Regions from separate parts of the Homo sapiens genome. Here region 1 is linked to region 2. Evidence: promoter capture Hi-C in human tissues and cell types (Jung and others, 2019). All regions are on one chromosome and are shown on one strand. The core of a region is centred on a gene start or on the middle of the fragment in contact, and the rest is flanking DNA. Distances in the headings are between cores, read along the strand shown. Region 1 overlaps ZFP3 (ZFP3 zinc finger protein). Region 2 holds the start of SCIMP (SLP adaptor and CSK interacting membrane protein).

Evidence for each region. The method cuts DNA at HindIII sites, captures the fragments that hold promoters and counts their contacts. A contact is called where the count stands out against the background at its distance.
Region 1: a contact is called between a fragment that was not itself captured here and the fragment with the promoter of SCIMP in region 2, in 1 of the 25 tissues and cell types used here (IMR-90 fibroblasts).

What each region holds. Positions count from the first base shown.
Region 1 is chr17:5,091,886-5,096,187 of GRCh38, reverse strand. It overlaps ZFP3 (ZFP3 zinc finger protein), which reads right to left. Exons shown (of 2, transcript NM_153018.3): 2 at 1-4,302. The coding sequence ends at 3,175. Among named protein-coding and RNA genes, the nearest start is that of ZFP3, 16 kb to the right of the region's middle. The HindIII fragment of the contact is 4,063 bases long and covers 1,021-4,302 here.
Region 2 is chr17:5,232,401-5,236,613 of GRCh38, reverse strand. It overlaps SCIMP (SLP adaptor and CSK interacting membrane protein), which reads left to right and starts at 1,754. Exons shown (of 5, transcript NM_207103.3): 1 at 1,754-1,879. The coding sequence starts at 1,859. ZNF594-DT (ZNF594 divergent transcript) reads right to left here. Exons shown (of 6, transcript NR_152840.1): 6 at 611-1,500. RefSeq lists an enhancer at 1,313-1,512. The HindIII fragment of the contact is 19,973 bases long and covers 1-4,213 here.

The sequences.
Region 1 (4,302 bases), core at 1,803-4,302, 140 kb after region 2:
TCATGTCCTTTCCTTGATAGTATTTGCACAAATCATCATTACCAGTCACGACTGTGGTCAGATGCTGACTCCCAAGTAAGTCGAAGAGGGAGGCAAACAGAAGGAAAAGAGAAATCTTCCTGAGATATCTGGGTAAGACATGAAGAGGACAGAGAATTGAGGTTAAGGATTTGCGTATATGTACCTAATAAGATACAAGTGATTTCATTCACCAGAAATCTGGGGCGGGGCGGGGAATATGTATCTATATATGGTAGACTTTTCTGGGAATGAGACGTGAGACCTCCCCCTTAAGAACATGGTCAGGTACAACAGGTCACTAAATTGCCTCCTAATGTTCAAATGAATGAATGGTGAACTAGAGGAAGTTTTGCTGAGCAGGAATGGGTTTAAGAGGGTAATTGAGCTAGGGCCAGGGGAGGCGAGGTGATGGATTGGATATCTAGTAGGCAAAAAGAAGTTGAGGTGACTGAGCCTTGAGAGGGGAGGACAAGAGGAAAACCTTCATTGGTTTGGCCAGTAAGGTACTTCTGAGAACAAAATGTCTAATAGGATGCACAATGTGAACTCTTCTCCTTTGCTTACACACTATCTTCAGTGAAGTCCATATTGCTCAGGGGTGTTTGTGTGCATAGATTGTTTAGGAGAAGCTTGAAGGGGTGCCAAATTCTCTGTCAGGGCTGACAAGAGGTAAATGTGGAAATAAAATATGCAAACACGGGAATCAGGCATGGAAGGGATAGGTGAGATCCAGGTTTCATGTGAGAAAGATACGGTCTGGGCACAATTCAATTTGTGCTCCAGCAATGAAAAAGGAATAAGACGGCGCACTTCACTTGTAATCAACCTAAGGGAAGAAGTAAATCAAACAACTTCCCTTACTAAGAGTGTGACTGCTAGAGGCAGAGGTATCTGGAAGGATGTGGAAACTCTGCAATCATCTATTTGTACAACCCTTTTCTCAAGCCAAGGATATAAACCTGGGAAGACACCTATATTGGAGTACAGAATAAACCCATTTGGTGAATTTTTTTTGGCTGTGATCAGTTCTGTTACCAAGGACATGATTTAAATTTGTTATATTCAAATCTACATAGAAATCAGTAATAGAAACTGTGCAAAGGGTTTCAGATAAGGCAGTAATGAATCTGCCTACCTGCGGCATAGCACAGTGGTTAAGAGCATCAACCAGGTTTGGAGTCTTGGCTGTCGCTCTTACTAGCTGTGGAATCATGGGTCAATTACTTAACACTGCCCCTTCTTATCTTTTAAATTGGGGTAAGAATACCCACATCATTGATGGTTGCACCACTATGTAAATTAAAAATCATTCAACTGAACACTTAAAACAGGTGAATTTTATAGTACGTAAATTATACCTTCATAAAGCTTTAAAAAAATGAGTACCCACATCATAGAAATGATGTGAAAATTAAAATGTAAACTGGCACTCTGCCTGTCAGGTAGTAAACACTCAATAAATATTAGTGACTAATATTAGTGTAACAAAGATGAGGTTAAAGAATAATAAAGATATATAAAGTTAAATTTTTAAAGAATTAAGGAATTATCGGGCTGGTTGAAACTTTTGAGATCACTTAGTTCAACTCTTTCATTTTACAGAGGAGAAAATTGGAGACCAGCAGGTGAAGTGCCTTGTTCAAGGTCTAGCGCTAAGACCAGCCCCCAGGCCTGTTGGGCCCCCATTAGTGCAATTCCCACTGTCACCCACGGCCTCAGAAACATGGACACATGGAAAATGTAGGCTGTTTCCTTGGAGAAGAAATAAATACAGAACACAAAAAACATGCAGACATAGCGAAGAAAGAATTTCAAGGCCGGGCATGGTAGCTCACACCTGTAATCTCAATACTTTGGGAAGTTGAGGCAAAAAGATTGCTGGAGCCCAGGCATTCAAGACCAGCCTGGGCAACATAGCAAGACTTTATCTCTATTTTTTTAAAGTTATTCAAGAAAAAAGAATTTCAAGGCCAAGGGGCAAAACCAAGAAGAGGCTACGACATCCTGACTTAGCCAGGGCCTCCAGTGCGGTCCAGGTCATGAGAACTTAAGTGCTTTGGCAAGGCCAGACCCTGGTTTGTCATCAGGTGAACTGACTCATCACTGTAGCCAGGTGCCCGGAGGAGGTGAAGCCACAGTCCTGTCTGCTACTTACTGTCACAATATCTGTCAGCAGTGGCAGGAGATGGGGCTAAAAATATATGCAGCAGAATTCTTAGGAGCAGTCAGTCTGAGCACCCCTGAAGTGTGGACAGCTCCTGAAGAGCTGCTTCTGCCCATGCCGAGCAGTGTGACCTCAATTGTTTATCCCCTGGTGTTGCCTAATCGGCCCCTCTGGATTCTAAGGCCTTCACTTATAATCCCGTTGTAAATTGCCTGTCAGTTCCTCCATCATGGCAGCCTCTTCAGATGAATAAGGAAGCCTGACAGATGTGAAATGAGCCTGCTTCTTCATTAATGCTGCCATCTTCTAAAGTAACTTCATAGCAGGGCTGGACGACTTTGAAGCTAATAACAGCTTACTAAATTATTCCAATGCTAAACAGTGGACAGGAGAATGAGGTGTGTCTTCTAAATTATGACTTTCTAATATTTCAGGGGGTAACAGTCAATGAGTCAACTCTCATTCTTAGGAGGTGGTGGAATCCTGTTCCCACAATTTTGCTGAAGAGTAATTTAGGAAAGATGGCTGGTACAGACCCTTAATGTTTGTTATGTGATCCACTGGGGGAGGAGAAGGGGAAGGAAGGACAGAGGGGAAATTAAGGCCTGAAAGAGCTTTTATGATTTAACTTAGCACACTGAAACCTCTCAATGAATAATTCATAAAAGTGCCTCATTAGTGCCTGCAGTCCTAGCTATTTGGAAGGCTGAGGCAGGAGGACTGTTTGAGCCCAGGAGTTCAAGGAAGCAGTGAGTTACGACTGTGCCACTGCATCCCATCCTGGGCAACAGAGCAAGACCCCAATGCTTAAAAAAAAAAAAAAAAAAGTGCCTCATCTTCTTCAACCAACTATTTAAAATCAGTGGGAGGACAGAGGAGGTTCTGTCCATTCATTGGATTTGAATACTTGGGGTGCATATTTGCATATTATGAACAAATGAATAAGTTGGACTTTAGCTTTTCCACTAAAAGCTTTCCTATTTTGCAGATTACTCCATACAGTGAACACTTTGATGTCGGAGGAGGTGAGAGCTCCGACTAAAAGTCTTCTGACATTCTTGGCACTCATAAGGCTTCTCTCCAGTGTGAATTCTCTGATGTATGATAAGTTGGGAATGCTGGCTAAATGTTTTCTCACACTCGCTACATTCATAAGGTTTCTCTCCAATATGAATTTTCTGGTGGAGAAGCAGCTCAGAATTATCCCAAAAGGTTCTTGCACACTCATTACATTGATGGGGTTTCTCTCCAGTATGAATTCTCTGGTGGACAATAAGGTGAGAGGTCCGCCTGAAAGCCTTTCCACACTCAAAGCATTCATAGGGTTTCTCTCCAGTGTGAATTCTCTCATGTCTAAGAAGTTCTGAGTTCCCCCTGAAGGCCTTCCCACATTCCTTACATACATAGGGCTTCTCACCAGTATGAATTCTAATATGTCTAATAATCTCTGAGTTCTGGCCAAAAGTTTTCCCACATTCATTACATTCATAGGGTTTGTCCCCTGTATGAATTCTCTGATGCCGGATAAGCTCAGAACTCTGCCCGAAGCCCTTCCCACATTCATTACACAGATATGGTTTTTCTCCAGTATGAATTTTCTGGTGTCTAATAAGGCCTGAGCTATGCTTGAAGGCTTTGCCACACTCATTGCATTCATGGTATCTTTCTTCAGTATGAATTCTCTGATGCTGAATAAGCTGTGAACTAACCCTAAAGGTCTTCCCACATTCATTACATTCATATGGTTTCTCTCCAGTATGGATTCTCTGGTGTAGAATAAGGGCTGAATTTTGACTGAAGGCTTTACCACATTCTTCACATTTATAGGGTCTCTCTCCAGTATGAATTCTATGATGGTGAATAAGGTGTGAACTCTGAATGAAGGCCTTTCCACATTCATTACAAGCAAAGGGTTTTTCTCCAGCATGAATTCTCAGGTGCCGTCGAAGGCTTGAATTAGTTCCAAATGTCTTTCCACATTCTTTACATTCAAAGGGTTTTTCTCCACTATGAACTCTCATATGCTGGATGAGATGTGAGTTCTGATTAAAGGCTTTCCCACATTCTTTACATGTATGAGGCTTTTCTCCCACAGAACTTCTCTGTGTTTTGTTAGA
Region 2 (4,213 bases), core at 505-3,004:
TGCCTCAGCCTCCCAAGTAGCTGGGACTACAGGCACCTGCCACCATGCCTGGCTAATTTTTGTATTTTTAGTAGAGACGGGATTTCACCATGTTGGCCAGGCTGGTCTCAAACGCCTGACCTCATGATCCGCCTGCCTTGGCCTCCCAAAGTGCTGGGATTTCAGGCGTGAGCCACTGTGCCCGGCCTAGAAGAAAATTTTAAATTGGCTTTTAGGAAGGTTTTTTAGCAGCTAAACTTTGGATGAGCCTAAGAAGAAAGAGTTCAGGCCTTGGCCAGGTGCAGTGGCTCAACTCTGTAATCCCAGCACTTTGGGAGGCCGAGGCAGGTGGATCACTTGAGGTCAGGAGTTCGAGACCAGCCTGGCCAACATGGTGAAACCCTGTCTCTACTAAAAATACAAAGATTAGCCGGATGCGGTGGCACACACCTGTAGTCCCAGCTACTTGGGAGGCTGAGGCAGGAGAATTGCTTGAACCTGGGAGTCGGAGGTTGCAGTGTGCTGAGATTGAGCCACTGCACTCCAGCCTGGCGACAGAGTGAGACTGCATCTCAAAAAAAAAAAAAAAAAAGAAAGAAAGAAAGAAAAAGAAAAAAGAAATTAGTAAACACTGCAAATCAGGAATCTTCTGAGCCAGATGTTTTGTTTTGTTTGTTTGAGATAGAGTCTTGCTCTGTTGCCCAGGCTGGAGCGCAATGGTGTGATCTTGGCTCACTGCAACCTCCACCTCGCGGGTCCAAGCAATTCTCCCGCCTCAGCCTCCTGAGTAGCTGGGACTACCGGTTCACACCAAAATGCCCAGCTAATTTTTGTATTTTTAGTAGAGATGGGGTTTCACCATGTTGGCCAGGCTGGTCTCGAACTACTGACTTCAGGTGATCCACCCGCCTTGGCCTCCCAAAGTGCTGGGATTACAGGTGTGAGCCACCGCACCCAGCCAGAGCCCGGTGTTTGTTAAATTTACCAGACATATATCAGACATTATCAGATATTTATCAGACATATCTGGTTATCATTATTACTGAAATGGATAACAACTCATTCGCTCTGGGCAAATACAATGCACATCCGTTTGCCTATTTTTACTAATGTGACTGCTCATTTGAGTCAGAACCAGCCAATTCAACAAAATGGCTAATTGGTTTCCCCACTCCAACCCCCATGGTCAGAGGCCGTGGGCCTCGCTGGGAGTTCTGTCTCACAGTATTGCACGAGGGGACCCAACTCAGTCAAAATGCTCCACTGGCCACATTTCTCAAGGTCGCCACTCACACGCCTTTAGAAACAGGAAGCCTGTCCCTTGCCTCCTCCAAGCAGAAGATGTCTCAGCAGTTCCAAGGTGCACAGGAGCTTTCAAGAGTCACCTTCATGGTGAGATGGTGAGTTTGTCACACATGAGCTGGTTTCTTACCTGGATCTGTCTCTGCATGGGAGCTGGCGTCCTGTCGCTCTTCTTGAGACTGAGGTTGCCACATCCAGGAATGCTCACGGCAAACTCGTCTGTGGGGACACCAAACCCACCCCCACTGCCAAGTCTCCACCCTGGCCCCTGGCCCCTGCCAGGACCCCCTACCACACCATGAGGGTCCTCTGGTAGGCCTTGCGGGAGCGACACGGGGCAGTGAGAAGATTCTGGCTTCTGGACAGCCGTGGGTCATGAGCTTCCCTGGAAAAGGGATGGTTGCCTAGAGATGACGCCAGGGTCTCTGCCCCGTGGGCTGACTAGAAAGGGGAAGTGGTCAGGATGGGGCTCACTGTCTCTAGCAGTGGGTGAAGGCCTGTGAGTGAGGAATGCCTCTCACCAGCTGTGCCTGAGCTGCAGCACTCCAGCCACTGCTGTCTCCTTAGCTGCTCACATATGGATACTTTCACAGTTCAGGTAAGCATCTCAGCTTTCCAAGGGACAGTTTCCTGCTCTCTTCACAGCAGACATCTGCCAGCGCTGGCATCAGGGCGTGTCCCTGGGAGCCACCGATCAGCACTGGGCCAGGGGATTGCAGCCTGGGGCCCTGGTACGACTGCTGTGTAGGGTTGGAGAAAAACTTGCATTGAAGGATCTGCTCTACTGGTAACTGGCTGAGTGACCTGAGGCATCACTTCACCTCTCTGGGCCTTTTCCTCATGTGTATGTCAGGGGCGATGAAGAAGTCTACCTCTTGGATTGAAATGAGATAATGACCGGGAGTGAGAGGTCTCAACTGTAACGAGTTACTCTCACTTTCTGGATGCCGATGGTGTGTTTTGGGACTTGTTATGTGAGAAGACTGTCATGGTGCTATGCTGGAGGTGGGGGTGGGAGCGAGGCACTGACTGTGTCAATTTATTTATTTTTATTTTATTTTGAGATGGAGTTTCGCTCTTGTCGCCCAGGCTGGAGTGCAGTGACGTGATCTCGGCTCACTGCAACCACCGCCTCCCGGGTTCAAGCGATTCTCCTGCCTCAGCCTCCTGAGTAGCTGGGATTACAGGCACCCGCCACCACACCTGGCTAATTTCTGTATTTTTAGTAGAGACGGAGTTTCACCATGTTGGCCAGGCTGCTCTCGAACTCCTGACCTCAGGTGATCCGCCCGCCTCGGCCTCCCAAAGTGCTGGGATTACCGTAGCATGAATTTAGGCTACGTCTTGGGGCTCTTGGATGAAAGACCTGGATCACCTCCAGTCTTGGTACCTTTGTCATTGCATCTCTGGCTTTCAGTAGTTCATTAGGCACCTTCCCTTCCAGAGGCCTCGAGATCAAAGTGTGTTGGGCTGGCGTGAGTTCTCGGTGTAGCCATCTGCTTTTGCCCTCTGGAAAATTATTTTGAGAAGAGATCTGGGTTTGGCTTTGCCATATCCACTCCCACTGCCTGGTGTGTCCACTTGTCCCTGAGGTCTTGGCCATGAAGCAATGTGGAGCACAGGCTTCACTCTGCTTCAGTGGTAAATAACTACTGAGAGGCAGGCGGGGCATGGTGGCTCACGCCTCTAATCCCAGCACTTTGGGAGGCCAAGGTGGGCAGATCACAAGGTCAAGAGATCAAGACCAGCCTGGCCAACATGGTGAAACCCTGTCTCTACTACAAATACAAAAATTAGCTGGGCATGGTGGTGGGCGCCTATAGCCCCAGCTACTCGGGAAGCTGAGGCAGGAGAATCGTTTGAGCCCGGGAGGTGGAGGTTGCAGTGAGCCAAGATTATGTCACTGCACTCCAGCCTGGTGACAGAGCAAGACTCCATCTCAAAAACAAACAAACAAACTACTGAGAGGCTTAAAGCAAGGAAGGGACAGGGTCACACTGGTATTTGGCAGCCAGTGGGGAGCCCAGTGGGGGCTAGGGGCCAGCGAAAATGCAATGGTCCAGGTACAGAGATGAGGACTTGGACTACATTTGGAGGCTGATGGGCTGAAGCGGGGTGGGGATGGGGCCATGGGAGAAAGAGGAATGAGGCAAGGTTTCCGGTCTTTTCCAGAAGTGAAAGTATAGAGAAGGGAAGAAGAGAGGCTGGACTCCTTTTAATGACCCTGCCGTGCACTTCCCCATGCACACTTGGGTTTTAAGTTGCCAGTGACTATCCACATGGCCATTTCTGGTGCTGACATCAGTGAGAAGGACAAGTGGAGCGAGGCTCAGTGGCTCACGCCTGTAATCCCAGCACTTTGGGAGGCCGAGGCAGGTGGATCACTTGAGGTCAGGAGTTTGAGACCAGCCAGGCCAACATGGCAAAACCCCATCTCTACTAAAAATACACAAAAATTAGCCGGGTATGGTGGTGCGTGTCGGTAATCCCAGCTACTCAGGAGGCTGACACAGGAGAATAGCTTGAACCAGGAAGTAGAGGTTGCAGTGAGCTGAGATTGCACCAGTGGAGTCTAGCCTGGGTGACAGAGCAAGACGCCATCTCAAAAAAAAAAAAAGAAGAAGAACGAGTGGGAACAAGGCCTCACTTAGCATGAACAGCAACAGTCGGGGAATTAGAGGTGAACTGGGGCAAGAACTGCTCATGCCAACCGGCCTAAATGTTCTCTACAGCCTCTCAGACCCTCGAGATCTAGACTGAGATTAGTTCGAACCCTCATTCCAGGCCTGCCGAAGTCCAAAGCCCTCCCCAGGACTTCTGTGGACTCCCGAGGAGCCCACCTCTTTTTCCATGGTCAGCAATGGGCCTGCAGCCTCTGTGGGTAAAACTGTTTACACTGCGCTGTTTACACTGCACTGTTTGCACTGTTTAT